Linked DNA regions of Homo sapiens: region 2 is linked to region 1. Evidence: promoter capture Hi-C in 16 types of primary human blood cells and fetal thymus (Javierre and others, 2016). All regions are on one chromosome and are shown on one strand. The core of a region is centred on a gene start or on the middle of the fragment in contact, and the rest is flanking DNA. Distances in the headings are between cores, read along the strand shown. Region 1 holds the start of IGF2R (insulin like growth factor 2 receptor). Region 2 has its middle 110 kb from the start of SLC22A3.

Region 1 (4,151 bases), core at 523-3,022:
CGCCCACCTCGGCCTTCCAAAGTGCTGGATTCCGGGCATGAGCCACCGCGCCCAGGCGAGTTAATTTCTTATTTTTGGTCACAGAAGCCATTATTCCAAAATGCCTTCCTCTAAATGTTGTTCTCAGCCTGACCTCGTTTAAGCTGCCACCATTTCTCTGTATCATACTAGTTACTGGAGTAACTATGTATCTTAGGGTAGCTAACTGGTCTTTAAACTAGTGTCACAAACTCTCCCTCCATCCACCCTTCCCCTTCCAAAAAAGGGAGCATAAAAAATATGGGCCTTTCCAAAGAGTTTCTATCGTGAGATCAGCCTCACCCTCCTTAGACTAATTTCTGCATGTTCTGAACACAGGGGTGCTAATAAAACTATCTCTGATGCATGGGAAAAATAAGAACCCCCCCCATAAACCCTACCACAAACTCCAAGTTCAGCCCAAAGTAGGCTCAACTTTGTTTCACTCTGAAAAGTAACTTGTAAAAGTAACTTGTAAAAGTAACAGTAACAGGGAGAAACTGTTGTCTGTTCAAAACTTTTCATCCTGCTTCCTTTTTACCAAAGTTTAAAAAAATAAACAAAAGCTGAATTTTCCATCATCCTAAACAGTCCAGAAAAGGATGGTCAGAAAATTCCTGAAATTCGAAGTTCCCCAGGCCCTGGACTGCTAGCAGTTGCGCGAGGTGAACAGCCCTCGATGGGACTGATGGGTTATACAATCATGGTTCCCAGAGCAAGATCCACTAGAATAATCCGCCCCGGAGACAATGACATCATGTGAGCAACCAGGCAGGAAGTTGGGCTCAGAGAAGTGAAGGGTCAAGTCTTGAAAGCTCACACTGGACGACACCCCCTGCCCCCAATCTAAAGAAGACAAAAGTCACCGCCTGCTAAAAATATATATATATATATATTCTTTAAAGAGAAAATGAGCCCACGGGGGGAAATCAATCAGCAAATGAAACCACAAACACTCAACTCCAGGACCATTCCTGCGGGCTCCAACGCCCCGGTGAGCCTCTCCACACCGAGGGGCCTCACCGGTGCCCCGCTGGCGAAACTCTGATGCAAACGCGCAGCGGGAACAAAGCAAACTGGAGTTCCTGCCTCCAACTTTCCCGGACGCCCGGCCGCGCGAGGGCAGGCGCCGACCCCAAGGGCCGGGGCGACCGCTCCGCACAAAGCCACCCCCGACTCAGCGACAGCCACAAGTGGCCGGACGCGGGGCTCCAGGACCGCCACGACCGCGTGTGCCCCCGCGCCCCCCGCCTGCGCACGGGACCCGGCGGGACTCGCGGACACCACGCAGGCAACTTTCCCTCGGGAACGGGGCGGACCCCGGCGCGGAACGGAGGCGACTTGGAGACCCCAGGAGCTCCTCGAGCGCTCCCCGCCCCCCACGCCGGCCGCTCACCCCGGGCACCGCGAGCGGAGCCTGCGTCCGGGCGGGCCACCCACCTGCACAGCTCGGGGAACGGGGCGGCCTGGGCCTGCGTGGACCCCGGGGCAGCGACGAGCAGCAGCAGCTGCAGCAGGAGCAGAGAGCGCTGCGGGCGGCGGGCGGGCGCGGGCCCCAGGTGGGGGCTCCGGCCGGCGGCGGCCCCCATCGCGCCGGGCCCGGACTGCGCGGCGGGCGCGAGGCTAACGGCGCGCGACTGCTGGGGGCCGCGCCCGGGACGGGGTCGCGCCGCCAGGGCAAAGGCGGAGGTGGAGACGGAGCGGGAGCCCGAGGTGAGCGCGGCTCGACTGGGCTCGGCGACAGCGACAGCGGCAGCGGCGGCCCCGGAACCGCGTCACGTGACAGCCGCCCGGCACCGCCCCCCCACCCCCGCCCCCCGCTCACGTGACTCCCTTGTTCAGGTGACCCCCGCCCGCCCCGGCTCCTCCCAGGCCCGGGTCACGTGAGCGCAGCGCGCGGGACAGGAAGCGGCGCGGGCGGGGCGCAGGCTCCAGGTGCCTCCCGGGGCCTGAGCCTCTCGGCGGGCTGGGCGCGGCGGGGGTGCCTAGCCGGGCCTCAGTTTCCCCTCCCACCGCGCCCTGCTGGATCGTGGCGGGTGCTTCCCAGGTTAGAGCAACTGTTCCCAACCTCGATCGACCAGTAGGGGAAAATAGGGAACTTGGATCAAAGTGCCAGGGAGGTAAATGCCTTCGCACAGCCTAGTGGCAGCGGATCCGTGGGGGGTGGGAACACACTTTAACTGCCCGTGGAGTCAAATCATGGGGGTTTACAACCTTGGCCCGTCAGAGCCTCTCAGACCTTCTGTGGGAATGTTATTTCCCAAGCGTGGGCTTCCTACAGCAAGGAAGGCAGCACAAATCCAGCAAGGTGAAAGAGTGGACAAAAGTGTCGCTGTCAAGCAAGTGCCACTCAACAAAGCTTTATTAATTCACTACGTGGATGGCCATGAGCTAGCCACAATGAAAGTAGAACGATGAATCTAAAAGTCTTGAACTAAAAAAATTCACTTTCTTTTAGAGTAAATATACAAAATAATCATGACTGAAAATAGTAATCATCATCATCATAAAAGCTCATCTTTTTTAGTGCTTATTCCATACCAGACACTGCTAAGCATGTAAGCATGAATCTTTAAAAACCTATGAGATGGGAACCTACTTATAGATGAGGAATTGAGGCACAAGGATACTCAGTGACTTACTCAAAGACACTCTGGGATGTGGCAAAGCTGGAATTCAAACACATATAAATAATCATGACCCAATAATAGCTAACATTTCTTGAGCAAGTAATTATGTACGAAGTACTGAAGTGTTCGGACACTGTGATTTAGCTCATTTAATCCTAACAGTCCTGTAAGAGGGGGTGCCTTTATTGCATCCGTTTTGCAGATAAGGAAAGTGAGGAATGGAGAAATTAAATAACTAGTTAGTCTTGCAGCTAGTAAGTGAAAAAGCCCGGGTTTGAGCCCAAGCCAGTCACAGGCCTGTGACATAACCACCGTGCTATTAATATATTGCCCAAGAAAAGAAAGTGTTGTAGTGGGTCAAAGGGAGAGCTCAGGTGTAAACTGTGGACGTCGAAAAAGGGTTTGTGGTGACCGGGCGCGGTGGCTCGCGACTGTAAACCCAGCACTTTGGGAGGCCAAGGCGGGCGGATCACAAGGTCAGGAGATCGAGACCATCCTGGCTAACACAGTGAAATCCCATCTCTACTAAAAATACAAAAAATTAACCGGGCGTGGTGGCACACGCCTGTAGTCCCAGCTACTCGGGAGGCTGAGGCAGGAGAATCGCTTGAACCCAGGAGGCAGAGGTTGCAGTGAGCAGAGATCGTGCCACTGCACTCCAGCCTGGGAAACAGAGCGAGATTCCATCTCAAAAAAAAAAAAAAAGAAAAAGGGTTTGTGTTTTGCAACTCCAGTGTTATAATGGATACAGGCAAAGACCATCAGTAAATACTAAAACCATCTGGTGAAAAATTATTGTGAAGCGGAATATTCTCTTTGTCTCAAAGTATCACCTTCAAAGTATACTTCCTTAAAAAACACAAAATACCTCTTCACAATGGAAAGATCTGGTAGAACCACCTTAATCAAGTAATTAAAACTAGTATCACCAATTTTTAAAAAACTAGCATTTTCTGCTTTCTAAAGTGATGCAATAAAAAATGCTAAAGGGTAATATTTAAAAGATGGTATAATCATGACTCAGATGTAGAATGAACATGTATCAAAGGTATTCCTTAGCTCATTCATTAATGTGAGAACCGGTAACATGTCACAGCTGGTTCAAAGGAAAATCCAAGGAGAATCCAACAAATATTCAAGCAGTTAGGAATGCTGAAATAAGGTTGTCTATAGATGGAAAATTGGTCAGTAACCATAGGTCAAAAAACAGCTGCGTACGCAATAGACACAATTTGCATTTCTAAAGACAAAAATCGTGTATATTACCATCAGTAGTCTACAATTTACAGAGTTGTAAAATACCTCAAAGACAGTGGCAGACACAAGACCCCATAGAATCAGATAACCCAAAAGACTGTACTAAACAGCTAGCATTCCATTACAGTTGACCACTAATATTTTTGGTCCATTTCAAAGTCTTTCACAGTTATTCCCTACCGTACACACTATCACAAGTAGTCTTGCCAAGAAGTTCAACTTAATCTAATTGAGATAAAACAATCA
Region 2 (3,990 bases), core at 489-2,988, 490 kb before region 1:
CACTACCACCGCCATCACCACCATCACCATCACCACCATTGCCATTATCACTACCACCACCATCATCACCATCACCACCACCATCACCATTATCATTACCACAACCATCATCACCACCACCATCATCACTATTATCACTACTATCACCATCACTATCACCACTATCATCATAAATAAACATCACATAACCGGCGTGTAACCGGGCCTTGACCCCAGAGCCCACTCGCTGTGTCCTCTCTCCCACCCCCTTCTGCACATTTCTAACCACCATCCTGCACTGGCTCCCTGTCTCCTCTGGTCTCACCCACATGTCCACTGAGAAAATGATTCTCAGAACACTAACTAGACCAGGAGGAGTCACAAAACATAACTCAGATCTGTTTATCGATTTTCTATATGTTGATGACATCAGATCAATGGGTGTTCTCAGCTTCTCAGAGGGAGGTCGAAATTCTCCCCCTCTCCCCTTCATGTTTCCAGACCTTCCTTGACTTGGATATTCCAAATGCAGAGTAGGTGTTGAGGCCAAGGGGCTCTTCCGTGTCAGCCCCATCCACAATCACTGGGCTAATCTTGTGGCCCTCTCCCCAGGACCCAATCAGGGAGGGCTTCAATCCTCAAGGTCACCCGTGGCCCCCCGCCCTCAGAGGTGCCATCTCTACATTGGCCACTGGATGGCAGCACATACTCACAGACCGCGTCAATTTCCTGGCAACTAGTGGTGGGTTTACCTCCTGATCAGGATGTTTGCCTTGCTCTGAGAGCAGATCTGAGAGCAGTGATATCTAACTTAATTTTCAGCAAAATATTTTGAAAAGGGTGCTCCCTCACCCATCTACACAGTCCACGTCATGCACCCCCTGCCCGATGCTTGGTAGCCAGGAGGAGCTTCCTCCATGCAGCTCCTTCCCGGCTAGGGCTGAGCTGGGCTCTGGAGCCAGGCTCTGGGAAGAGCCTCTTCTACGCTGCTCATGTAAACTCCAGATTCAGTGTCAGTTTTCTGAACCTGAGACAATGATCTAAGTGCAGTCCAACACTTTGGGGGAAGAAAGAAAGAGTGCCTCAGCTTTTGCCTGTGTCATGCTCGCAAAGCAAAATATTTTGAGAAATTCTAATCAAAGCTGGGCTTGCAAAATTGGAAAACGATTATTTGTGAGAGCACTGAGACATCCTTGGCGTGTCCATCTGGAAAAACAGCATTCCCTCTGGCAGTTTAGCAGATGTTCTGTTTCAATTTGGCAAAGGAAATAAAGCAGTTTTTCACAAAAGAAAAACTACAACTAGGAGAATTGTCCCTAGTTGTATTTCTTCTCCCTAATTGTCAAGGAAGTGTAAATCAGAAAATGAATCAGGACAATTTCCACCTACTATGTTAGCTAATCTTTTAAAAATTGAATACTCACAAGGGTGAGGAGAATTGTTTCCAGTAACATTTTATACTGTCACACACTTTTAGAAAATAATTTGGGAGTGTTACCGCGAGATGGAAATATGTCAACATAATTATGGGAACTTAGACTTCAGAAAAGAAACGAGAATGAACTTTATGAACAAACATGTGGAAGATTGGAAGCAAGAGTGGGGCCAGTGTGCACGGGGAGGAAGCATTTGGGCAGTGACTCCGCAGACCCAGGCTCAAGCTGAACTACACAACCTCCTTACACCTCAGTTTCCTCAGCTGTAGAACAGGAATGATAAAAGTGCCTGTTTCATAGGACGGTTGTGAGGATGAAGTGAGATACACCACATTAAGAGCTTGTGCCTGAAAAGGTTAATTCTTAGTAAATGACGACTATTCTTTTTATTGCAATAAAATATACACAACATAAGAGTTAGGATTTTAATTATTTTGCAGGGTACCACTGAATGGCATTCAGTACATTCACAATGGTGTGCAACCATCACCATATTTTCAGAACATTTTCCTCATCTCAAAAGGAAACCTCATGCCAATTAAGCAGTCACTCCCCATTAAAATATTAGTTATGAAGATTGTAGCATTATTTTAAAAACTCATGATATACATTGATTGAAAAAATCAGTATATAAAATTGTGCATTATGATGTAAGTAGTAAAGAAGCATATAAAAAATCTGAAAAAGTATATAAAAAGAATAGCAATTGCATTTCTCAGACTCTCTTTACATTGTAAAAATCATTTTCATACTTTCAAAAGAAAAGCAAAAAGTACACAAACAACAACGAACGTAAAACACCATGACAAAGCCCAGATCGTTAAACCCAGATCTCAGGAACACAGAATCATATATGATGTTTACACTCTCCAAGGTCAGAGAGTCCAGCGGCATTGGGAGCTGCCTTGTGTTCTGCAGCCTCACGGACAGACAGGAGGTCCAGTGCCACTGCTCTGTTCTTCTGGTTTTCCTCCTAAACATGTTTTGGGTTCAGCAACCATTTCTTTCATCTTTTAAACACAGGTACCTTTGGGGCTGGCCTTCTCAAGGAAGCCCCAGCTTCTTGTGATTGAGAATAAAGTGTGCAATCGCTATGAGTATCTGAATGGAAGAATCAAATCCACTGAGCTCTGTGCTAGGCATTTGGCTGGAGGCACTGACAGTTGCAAGGTAAGAAAAGGTCAAGAGACCAAAGTTAGTCTTGTGCTCTCCCTTCTTGGTCTCAGCCCCTTAGACTTCAGTCCCAAAGAGGCAAATTCTAGAAGGATTTGTCAACGTTAGACCCCAGTCTAAGTGTTGTTTAGAAACTGCCTAGATCTGTCCCTGAATGCGTATTCAGATCATCTAAGGGGATGTCTTGGGGCTTGAGTTCCAGATCGGTAGCAAGGGAGTTTTAAGTGCCGTAACTACCTCAGGCCACTCACCCTCCTGGGGTGTGCTGGTGGCCAGGGACTAAAGTGGTGACTTTTCCGACAGGGAAGGAGGTAGAGGGTACAGGACAGAGACCAACTGCACATACTTTACAGTGATGCCCAGGCTAGGCCAGTCTAAAGGAAACACCAACACAGGAAGGGATGTGTGCAGGATTCACAAGGGTTTTTTTTACCCCTGGGAGAAACTAAGTGGTGTGGTTTCGCTGAATAGATTTTGCTAAGTACTTAAGCACTGCAGATGCTCCAGTAATATGCCCATAAGTTCCTTTCCAATTTCAATTACTGGGAAAATATACATATGGACAATAGATGGATGCCACAATAAAAGGCTGGCAGCCTAACCCTCACATGAATTTTTCCCTACCTCTATTTAGGGTGACAGTGGAGGGCCTCTGGTTTGCTTTGAGAAGGACAAATACATTTTACAAGGAGTCACTTCTTGGGGTCTTGGCTGTGCACGCCCCAATAAGCCTGGTGTCTATGTTCGTGTTTCAAGGTTTGTTACTTGGATTGAGGGAGTGATGAGAAATAATTAATTGGACGGGAGACAGAGTGACGCACTGACTCACCTAGAGGCTGGAACGTGGGTAGGGATTTAGCATGCTGGAAATAACTGGCAGTAATCAAACGAAGACACTGTCCCCAGCTACCAGCTACGCCAAACCTCGGCATTTTTTGTGTTATTTTCTGACTGCTGGATTCTGTAGTAAGGTGACATAGCTATGACATTTGTTAAAAATAAACTCTGTACTTAACTTTGATTTGAGTAAATTTTGGTTGTGGTCTTCAACATTTTCATGCTCTTTGTTCACTCCACCAATTTTTAAATGGGCAGATTGAGGGGGTTGTGCTGTTTTTGATAAGGAACAGAGCACAAAGACCTGAGCAGGCTGCAAGGTCACAGAGGGCAGAGCCGAGAAGTCCTAGGAAGTTGTCCATGCATTTACCTCATCAGCTAACGAGGGCTTGACACACATTTTTATGTCTTTATACCTAACTCTGAGATGAATGTTTTCAAAGCTGCAACATGTATGGGGAGTCATGCAAACCGATTCTGTTATTGGGAATGAAATCTGTCACCGACTGCTTGACTTGAGCCCAGGGGACACGGAGCAGAGAGCTGTATATGATGGAGTGAACCG

The links. The method cuts DNA at HindIII sites, captures the fragments that hold promoters and counts their contacts. A CHiCAGO score of 5 or more calls a contact.
Region 2: a contact is called between a fragment that was not itself captured here and the fragment with the promoter of IGF2R in region 1, in 2 of 17 cell types (naive CD4 T cells and total CD8 T cells). The highest score is 6.1, in naive CD4 T cells.

Annotation. Positions count from the first base shown.
Region 1 is chr6:159,966,703-159,970,853 of GRCh38, reverse strand. It overlaps IGF2R (insulin like growth factor 2 receptor), which reads right to left and starts at 1,772. Exons shown (of 48, transcript NM_000876.4): 1 at 1,459-1,772. The coding sequence starts at 1,607. RefSeq lists silencers at 1,152-1,281, 1,302-1,581, 1,592-2,211. The HindIII fragment of the contact is 4,184 bases long and covers 1-2,379 here.
Region 2 is chr6:160,452,819-160,456,808 of GRCh38, reverse strand. No RefSeq gene overlaps it. Among named protein-coding and RNA genes, the nearest start is that of SLC22A3, 110 kb to the right of the region's middle. The HindIII fragment of the contact is 6,115 bases long and covers 1-3,990 here.